Regions from separate parts of the Homo sapiens genome. Here regions 2 and 3 are each linked to region 1. Evidence: promoter capture Hi-C in 16 types of primary human blood cells and fetal thymus (Javierre and others, 2016). All regions are on one chromosome and are shown on one strand. Each heading gives the region's core, a stretch centred on a gene start or on the middle of the fragment in contact. The rest is flanking DNA. Distances are from core to core; before and after follow the strand shown. Region 1 holds the start of YBX3 (Y-box binding protein 3). Region 2 holds the start of MANSC1 (MANSC domain containing 1). Region 3 overlaps BORCS5 (BLOC-1 related complex subunit 5).

What was found. The method cuts DNA at HindIII sites, captures the fragments that hold promoters and counts their contacts. A CHiCAGO score of 5 or more calls a contact.
Region 2: the fragment with the promoter of MANSC1 here is called in contact with the fragment with the promoter of YBX3 in region 1 in 1 of 17 cell types (M2 macrophages); the score reaches 6.1 in M2 macrophages.
Region 3: a fragment that was not itself captured here is called in contact with the fragment with the promoter of YBX3 in region 1 in 1 of 17 cell types (M2 macrophages); the score reaches 5.9 in M2 macrophages.

What each region holds. Positions count from the first base shown.
Region 1 is chr12:10,722,041-10,724,780 of GRCh38, reverse strand. YBX3 (Y-box binding protein 3) reads left to right here and starts at 1,458. Exons shown (of 10, transcript NM_003651.5): 1 at 1,458-1,931. The coding sequence starts at 1,670. It overlaps LOC124902876, which reads right to left and starts at 1,729. Exons shown (of 2, transcript XM_047429946.1): 1 at 1,121-1,729. The coding sequence starts at 1,671. RefSeq lists silencers at 1,343-1,562, 1,583-1,682, 1,813-2,212. The HindIII fragment of the contact is 1,699 bases long and covers 745-2,443 here.
Region 2 is chr12:12,348,978-12,351,677 of GRCh38, reverse strand. It overlaps MANSC1 (MANSC domain containing 1), which reads left to right and starts at 1,436. Exons shown (of 4, transcript NM_018050.4): 1 at 1,436-1,600. RefSeq lists a silencer at 1,126-1,435. The HindIII fragment of the contact is 5,175 bases long and covers 1-2,330 here.
Region 3 is chr12:12,365,208-12,367,907 of GRCh38, reverse strand. The region is part of intron 2 of BORCS5 (BLOC-1 related complex subunit 5); the gene reads right to left. Among named protein-coding and RNA genes, the nearest start is that of BORCS5, 9.5 kb to the right of the region's middle. The HindIII fragment of the contact is 928 bases long and covers 787-1,714 here.

The DNA of each region.
Region 1 (2,740 bases), core at 209-2,708:
TTGATGAATTACATAGAAAAGCTCAAAATTACATAATTTGCTATTTTTTCAAATAACTTATTTTCTTTGTGTTTTTTGTGGATGAAATAAGAAAGTAAGAATTCAGGAAAGTTTCATAATAATTGATAGCAAATGTGCAGATAAGTAATTGAGTTTGGAAGAATTTGGTCTGTTTTCATTTTGTAAACATTCACTATGTCCAAACTCTGTGCTACGTACTGTACTAACCAGTGGAGATACAAAGATGAATTACACTTGATAGTTACCCTACTGATGTTAAGGTAGACATCGACATTACAGACATATTCCTGGAAAAAAATTTGGTAAATTGTTTGAGGGAACAGGCAATAACTTAAAAAACAAACAAAACAAAGGAGCTTTAGGTGGACCGGACACTGGAGTGACACATGATAATCTCATCTACTTTTCATGTCACCTTTGAGAACCTCTCATAAAGCAGGAAACCGACTCTGGGACATTGAATCTCTGTCCCAAGTTAACCTGGTTAATAAAAAACAAAGCCAGAATTTATACCTAGTCTGTCTGAACCCTAGGGGCCAAATAGTCCTGTATTCCAGACAGTCTTTGGGTACAGATCCCAGACCCTCTGGCCCTGTGTTTACTACCATCCAGCCCATTCTCAAAGGGCATGTGGGCTCTTCAACTTGGGAATAATGTTTATTGGGTGATCTGTTTCTCTATACCTCTCATCCTCGAGGCTAAGAGGGCTCAGTTCCTTAAGCTTTCACCAGCTGGCAGAGGCAACTGGAGCAGAAGGTAGGAAGTGGATTTATTCAGCTTTTTTTGTGTGTGTTCCTTATTAAATATATATTGACAGCTCCTTATTTGTTGCGGTTAAATTGGTGTAAACTCTGAATTTACATTAAATCTGTGAGGTCAATTTCCTCATCTGCGTGTTACAGATGAAATTATCCGTATATTACCTTTCAGGAGTAAGTTGCCAAATAGTCTTAAGGTTTTATTATTCCAGGTCTTAACAGCTGTGCTACGAATAGCTGCTGGTGCTTGATACATGTTGAATGACTGACTAGATGCAAAGGATTTAAAAACAAGTGTTTGAGAGGGTAAAGCGCAGAGTAGTTTGGGTGCCCTATTTTACCTCTCCTTGTCAGCTGCGGGTGTCAAGACGGGTTGAGGGAGGAGAGCCAATGCACCCCGCTCCAACAAAGGGTCAGCAGCGCGGGCTCCTCGGAACGCTCCAGAAGACAACCCGGGCGCCCCGTTCACCCTGGCTTTCCTTGGTTCTGCAACGCGACCCGCGCGCTCGCGTCCCGGCGGATTGGAGCCATAGAAAGCGCACCGGGCGCCTTTAAATGCTAATGAGAGTCCAGGGCCCGACTCCCGAGCCAAGTTTCCCCACCCTCTCCCCTCGCCCGCCCTTCCCTCCCGGGCCGGTGCGCCGCCTAGAAAAACTTGTGCGGGGCCATTTTTGGGGCAGTAAGATCGAGCGAGGAGCCCAAGAGAGAGCGCGCAGCACGAAGCTCGAGCCGCCTCCGCCGCGCGACCCCACCTCGGCCGCCGCCGCCTGCGCCGCGAGATCCGCCCCGGCCTCCCCGAGAGCGAGCCCCGGCCGCCGCGACCACCAGCCGCGCTAACCGCCGACCAACCGCCACCGAGGCGCCTGAGCGAGAGCAGAGGAGGAGGAGGCATGAGTGAGGCGGGCGAGGCCACCACCACCACCACCACCACCCTCCCGCAGGCTCCGACGGAGGCGGCCGCCGCGGCTCCCCAGGACCCCGCGCCCAAGAGCCCGGTGGGCAGCGGTGCGCCCCAGGCCGCGGCCCCGGCGCCCGCCGCCCACGTCGCAGGAAACCCCGGTGGGGACGCGGCCCCCGCAGCCACGGGCACCGCGGCCGCCGCCTCTTTAGCCACCGCCGCCGGCAGCGAAGACGCGGAGAAAAAAGTTCTCGGTGAGTCAGGCCAGGGAGGGCAGGGGCTGCCGTAGTGGGGCGGGCCCAGCCGGCCGCGGAGCACGTGTGGGCAGCTCGCGCTACATCTCCCACCCGGGCTGGAGACGCTGACAGCACAGGGTCCCCAGGGATCTCCGGGTCCCCAGGGGTCTCCGGGTCCCCAGCGCTGGCCGCCTCCCTTGCCGGCGCTCCCAGGTGAGCGCGCTGCGCCCTGCGCTCCTGGCGGCCGTGTGCATCTCCCTTCTGGTTCCGGGCCAGAAAGTTTAGGTCTTAACTTCTGTCTCCCAGACGGGCACTGTTGCGGATTCGCGTGGTGGAAAATGCCTGCGTTTGGAGAAGAAAGGAGAGGCAGTCTGGGAGAGGGGACCTTGGGTAGGGATGGATGTAGGGGAAGGACCGACACGTGGGCCTGGCGCTTTGGGGTCCTTGCTTGGGATCTGGGAAAGGAGAGCATTTCCTTTGGGGAAGAGGAGGGCGCTAGAAGGAGACGGGGAGGGAAAGATAGAAAAGCTTCTTGCCAGGAAGGGTCAGGTGTCTGTCCCTGACGCCCTTCCCACATGGGCATGGGAAAGACGCCATGCTCCTGTTGGCCACATGCCAGCAAAGAGATGTTGCAATCGTCTCCGGGAAACTTGGGTCTTAGTCCCACGTCTTCCTCCCCCTCTCTGTGCCCACGGCTGCAAACAGCCATTCAGTGTCCACCAATGGCTACACGCTTCCCTCTTCCCGGACTGTGGGAACGCACGTGGTGTAGCAGCTGAAAAAACTTTGTCGGAAGTGGGGGTATGACGTTAGTTCAAAACATTGTT
Region 2 (2,700 bases), core at 187-2,686, 1.6 Mb before region 1:
GCCGAGATCACACCACTGCACTCCAGCCTGGGCAACACAGCGAGACTCCGTCTCTAAAAACAAACAAAACACAAAACAAAACAAAAAAAGAAACAGGTTCATTGTATTAAAGCACCGAATACGAAGTTTCTAATAATGGAAAGGTCTACTTTGTAACTAGCATGGATTACCCCATGTAGAGAGATTCAAAAACTGTGATAGCTCTACACCCTGAACCCTGAAGTGTATCAGATGATAAAAGATAAAACACACTTGCAGATCAGTCCCTTGTTGCATCAGGAAAATCACTGCAATGGGAAATTACTCTGGTGTTTACTTTTCTTTGGTAACTCTTTCAAACCTAGCTTTAGCAACATTGTAATTCAAGAGTCATCCTTTGGTTACAAGTAGAGTTAGTTTCACACAATGGACCTTTGTTCACAAGCATTCTCAGTCAACCTAATCCTCCTGTAGTTATTGGTTAAGACTAGGGTGTGTAGCTGTTGGCCGTACAGGCCTAGACTTAACTTGCAATTGCATAGCGCTTCAGGTCTGCAAGCTCTTTCAAAACAGAGGTGAAGATACTGTCAAAGGTTAGACCATATGGCAAACTAAGTGTCAATGGTTTAGTAACGTTGCATTTGTGTGTGTGTTTATGGAGGTGGGGATGGGGCCAGCAGTAATTTAGAAACTTCCACAACCTATGCCCTATGCAGTTCTTTTCCATTCATTCAGTCAACAAAAATATTTTAGTTAAATATTTACTGAGCACCTATTGTGTACCAGGCACTATGCTAAGTGTTAGGGATACAGTTTTAATATATGTTACAGACACCAGCATTTTCACCATTATTATCCTATCTACAAACAATAAATCCCGCAGAAAGCCAAATACCTTCCCTGAAGTTTGTCTTGCAGATAATATTTAACTCAAGAATTGCCATCTTTAATTGAGGACTCCATCCTCCAATTATGGAAAGAGGATTCTCAGAACTATGCCCCCAATAGGATGCACTATAAGCCCTTGAACATCAAAAAACTGCTCTCAGTGGTTGCCTCTGAGGAGGGAGACTAGGAGACTGGGGCACGGGGGTGAGGGGTAGACTTGTCTCTGTGTCTATTTTTGTACTGTTTGACATTTTCCCCATGTGCATTTATTTTAACTTGCGCGGGCCGCGAGGCAAGGCTCACCTGCAGACCCTCGGGCCACCAGCAGGGAGGCACGCACTCCCCCTCGCAGCGCGCCCAGCCCGGGGTCAGCGGTGTGGCTGAGCTGGGGGGGAGCGCGGGGCGGTGGGGGGAGCCACCTCCCTGCGGGGCTCAGCGCTGGGGCCGGGAGCCCGGAGCCTCCGCGGGGAGGGACGCGCTAATGTTGCCGGGAAGCAGCTCCGGGTTGCAGGGCAGGAACGTGCCCTTCCCCCGCGGCAAACTTGCCGTCGCTGCGACGGAAGCAGGAACTTGCTAACCACAAAACCCGCCAGGCCGGTGCGGGAGCTGCGGAGCATCCGCTGCGGTCCTCGCCGAGACCCCCGCGCGGATTCGCCGGTCCTTCCCGCGGGCGCGACAGAGCTGTCCTCGCACCTGGATGGCAGCAGGGGCGCCGGGGTCCTCTCGACGCCAGGTAAAGGGGTCTCCCCAATACCCACCCCCGACCGGCCGCAGGCGACGTCGCTACCTGCGGAGAGAGTCGGTCCCCTCCTTTCCAGGGGCCGAGGCTCCTTCACCCACACCCGAGCATCCAAAGGACCAGCTGGGGCCAATAAGGGCTGACCAGGATCCTTGAGTCGCTGCAGTATTCCAAAGGGGACCTCTAGGCGGGCTCAAGGCACCTGCCATAAATGGCTCTGGCTCTGCGTTGACATCAGAAGGAGAGGCAGAAGAATAGCTCAGTAGGCAACATGCATTTCCTCAAAGGAAGAGAAAATGTTCCCTGTTTTCTTGTCGTTGACTCTGTATTCATTATTGAAACTGCTAATTGTCTAATTCTCTGTAGAGTGTGTGTGTGTATACAGTTATAAGCATCTTGGTAAATTATAGTGTGCTGTAAGACGATTTCCAATATTTGAACTAATTACGTGCGAGTAAGTTTTAGCGACTCTTGTATGCAGACGTTAAAACTCAGGGGCATCCTCTCTCACCCGCCTGTATCCTTTTACCCCGTCTTTCAACAAGATTCAACTCGACTTCAGGCCCTTAAAGCCTAAATAATAATGGATTAGAAAACGTCGCTAACCTAATATTGCTGAGCCTCTTTAATGATATAAAACTCTTAAACACTTCTCTCAATGCTGCATACTGAAAACAACTCCTGCCCCATCTCCTTACATAGTTCAGGTTTCTTTGCAAAAGCTTGAAAAGAGGCTACATTAGAATCCATTCAAAATAAAGTATTGGCCTGGTTTTCTCTTGATTCCCTAGAGGCTTGCAAAATATGGCAGCGTATTAAGTACCTTGGCCAGAATTATTAACCTGGGGAGTCCACGATAAGGTATCCATGGATAGAATTCAGGATGTCTGTGAACTTGAGTGGAAAAAATTATTATTTCACCGACTTCTGAAATGGAATGTAGGCAAAAGCCACAGTAGTATTAGCAGTAGCTATGATTTGCCCCCTGTAAATATTGCCGATATCTTTATATCACATGACTTGTTGCACGTTTCAAAATATTATCTATACTCAATACCACGTCAAAATTATGGCAGTTATTAGATGACCACTTG
Region 3 (2,700 bases), core at 1-2,500, 1.6 Mb before region 1:
TCTGAACAAGAGGAAAGAGGTCCACTAAGCTAGTTGCGAGACAAAAAGAGAAAAGGACAGGAGCAAAGTCCCAGCAAATGGAAAGAGTGAAACAGAATGGCATTAAGTTTCAGAGAAAGGCATGAATACCTCATCTGAGACTTAATGGAAAGAAACAAGAATGGATGCAGGCACACAGAGATTTATGGGAGTAAGGGAAAAGATGAGGGTGTTCTGGTGAGACAGCTTCACTTTCTCAATCGGTTGAAAGCAACCATTCACCTGGTACTTCCCACTCTTCTGAGTAAGGCTAACCCAATGCTGGTAAACAGCTATGTTTATTTTTGTTTTTGTTTTTACACACAACTCACACTTCTCTGAATAGCCATGTTTAAAAGCTTAACTGAAGAGCTATTACAAATACAAACCCATAAAGTAATCAGGAATAAGTCATCAATCTTTCCAATATGGTATTTGGGAGAAAATATACTTAGGATTACCCCTGGGTTTAGAGATTACCTTTAAGCCATTCAGAGAAGACTGTGGCTCTGATTAAGATCCATTCTCTTGTCCCCTCCTTTGGCTGCCATTTTCCAATGCAATGATAAGGTCTGACAGCTGGTAGAGGCAGACATCTGATGAATGCAAAGACTTTTATTTGTCCAGATGACAGAAGAATGTGAAGAAACTGGTCATTTGAAATCTAGCTCCATCATGCTCTCCTTATCGCCCTTTTTCCATTGCTTCATTCTTCCCTAGCTACACTTTCAGGTTCCAGTTCTCAATGTTCCATGTGATTTGAAAGCTTTCACTGCTGTTCCATGAGATTTCGCTCCACTATGAAAAGCCCCAGGCTCCTTTTAATTATCAAAATCTACTTCACATGCATCATGTTCTTAACAACCAAACACCAAACTCCCAACAAAGCTGCTTAGTATCACTTCAGTATCTACACTGTATATGTTTGATCATCCTTGTTATTAACAAAAACAGCCCCTTCCATAGGCAGCAATACAATCTCTTACGTTGTATCCAAGGTCAGTAACAAAAATGACAGATCGGTTGGAAAGAATGTCACATGCATGCATGTGTGTAAATATGCACATATTCATCTACTAAGAGTGAATAATTATTTTTGTAACTTTATATATAAAACACCAACCATATTACTTTTCTCTTGCAAATATTTCATTTCTTTAGAATGACATACAATAGAGTGGGATTCATTAAAAAATATGAGTGGTTGAATTTCAAGTAAGAAATCTATACAGGGTTTGTTAACTTCTTGGAATCTTGCTAACTTACATCAAATCTACTATTTTGCCTTTGTGTTCTGTCACAGCCATTTGTAGCTACTTTCTAATTTTCTAATCTTTCATTTCCTATAAAATGCTTTACATGTCAAAATAAATTACTAATTCAGACATTGCTATGAAAAACAGAAATCCCTTTGATAAAAAAAGGAACAGATATTTGGATTATGGAGCATAAATTATACTCTGGTATATTTATGCAAAAGGGTTAAGGCCAAAGAAAGAATCTGCTTGCTTATTAAAAATGCAAACATTACCTCAGTCATACAAATAGCCCCAAACTCGCCCAGCCACTGCCTCTGCAGATCACCCACCAGCATTAGCATTACATCATATGACATTATGAAACAATAGTGAACTCTGTGTAATACTTCAATATATTGTTTTGAAAGAATAAACTGTCATTAAGTTGAATAAAAGCTTTCTGAAATCAAACCTGGGGGGTACAGGCTTCACTGTGTGGCCTTTTTACTATTTTGAGGAATGGCCTCATCCTGAAAGCAGGAAAGGGGGAAAAAAGAGTCAGAGTATAAAGGCGACAGTGATGCCTGGCCCCTGCAGCAGCCCAGCAGGCAGAGGGTAGGGCTTTTAATTATCAGGCAGAACAACGTCAAAGCAGGAGGCTCTGCAACAAATGCTGCACCTCAAAACCCAAACAACCTCATACCCACCACGCTAGTTCCTGTATATCCTAGTGATTTCTATAATGGGCTTTGCTAGAATTGGAAACTAAGTCTTATTCTATGTCCTGATGCAATCTTAAAATGTGCTATCACTTACAGCCATGTGACTTTAGGCAATTAATTTAAGCTCTCTAGGCCTCAATATTTTAATCTATAAAAACAGAAAGAACAATAGCTATTATGTAGAAGCATGGGGGATAAGATACTATTATCATAATTAAACTTATCATTTCCACCCCCTTTGCCTATCTTTCCTAATCACGGCCCAAGATGTTTCGTCTTCACAAGTGAAACATGAGCATCACCTTCAATGCTCACTGGCTTTTTGTTTGCTATAGTCTGGCCACAGCCACATGTTGTCATTTCTAGATTCACGCCACTCTCATCAAGTGGGGGTTGGGGTGGGGGGGATGAATTATACAAACTATTTTCTATAGTATTTTTTGAAACTCGGGCCGGGCATGGTGGCTCATGCCTGTAGTCTCAGCACTTTGGGAGGCTAAGGTGGGAGGAGCACTGGAGTCCAGGAGCTCAAGACCAACATGGGCAACATAGTGAAACCCTGTCTCTACAAAAAAAAAAAAAAATGTATTTTAATTAGCCGGGTGTGGTGGTGCACACTGTAGTCCCAGCTACTCTGGAAGCTGAGATGGGTGGATCGCTTGAGCCCAGGAGGTGGAGGCTGGAGTGAGCCATGATCTCATCTCTACCTTCCTTAACCAAAT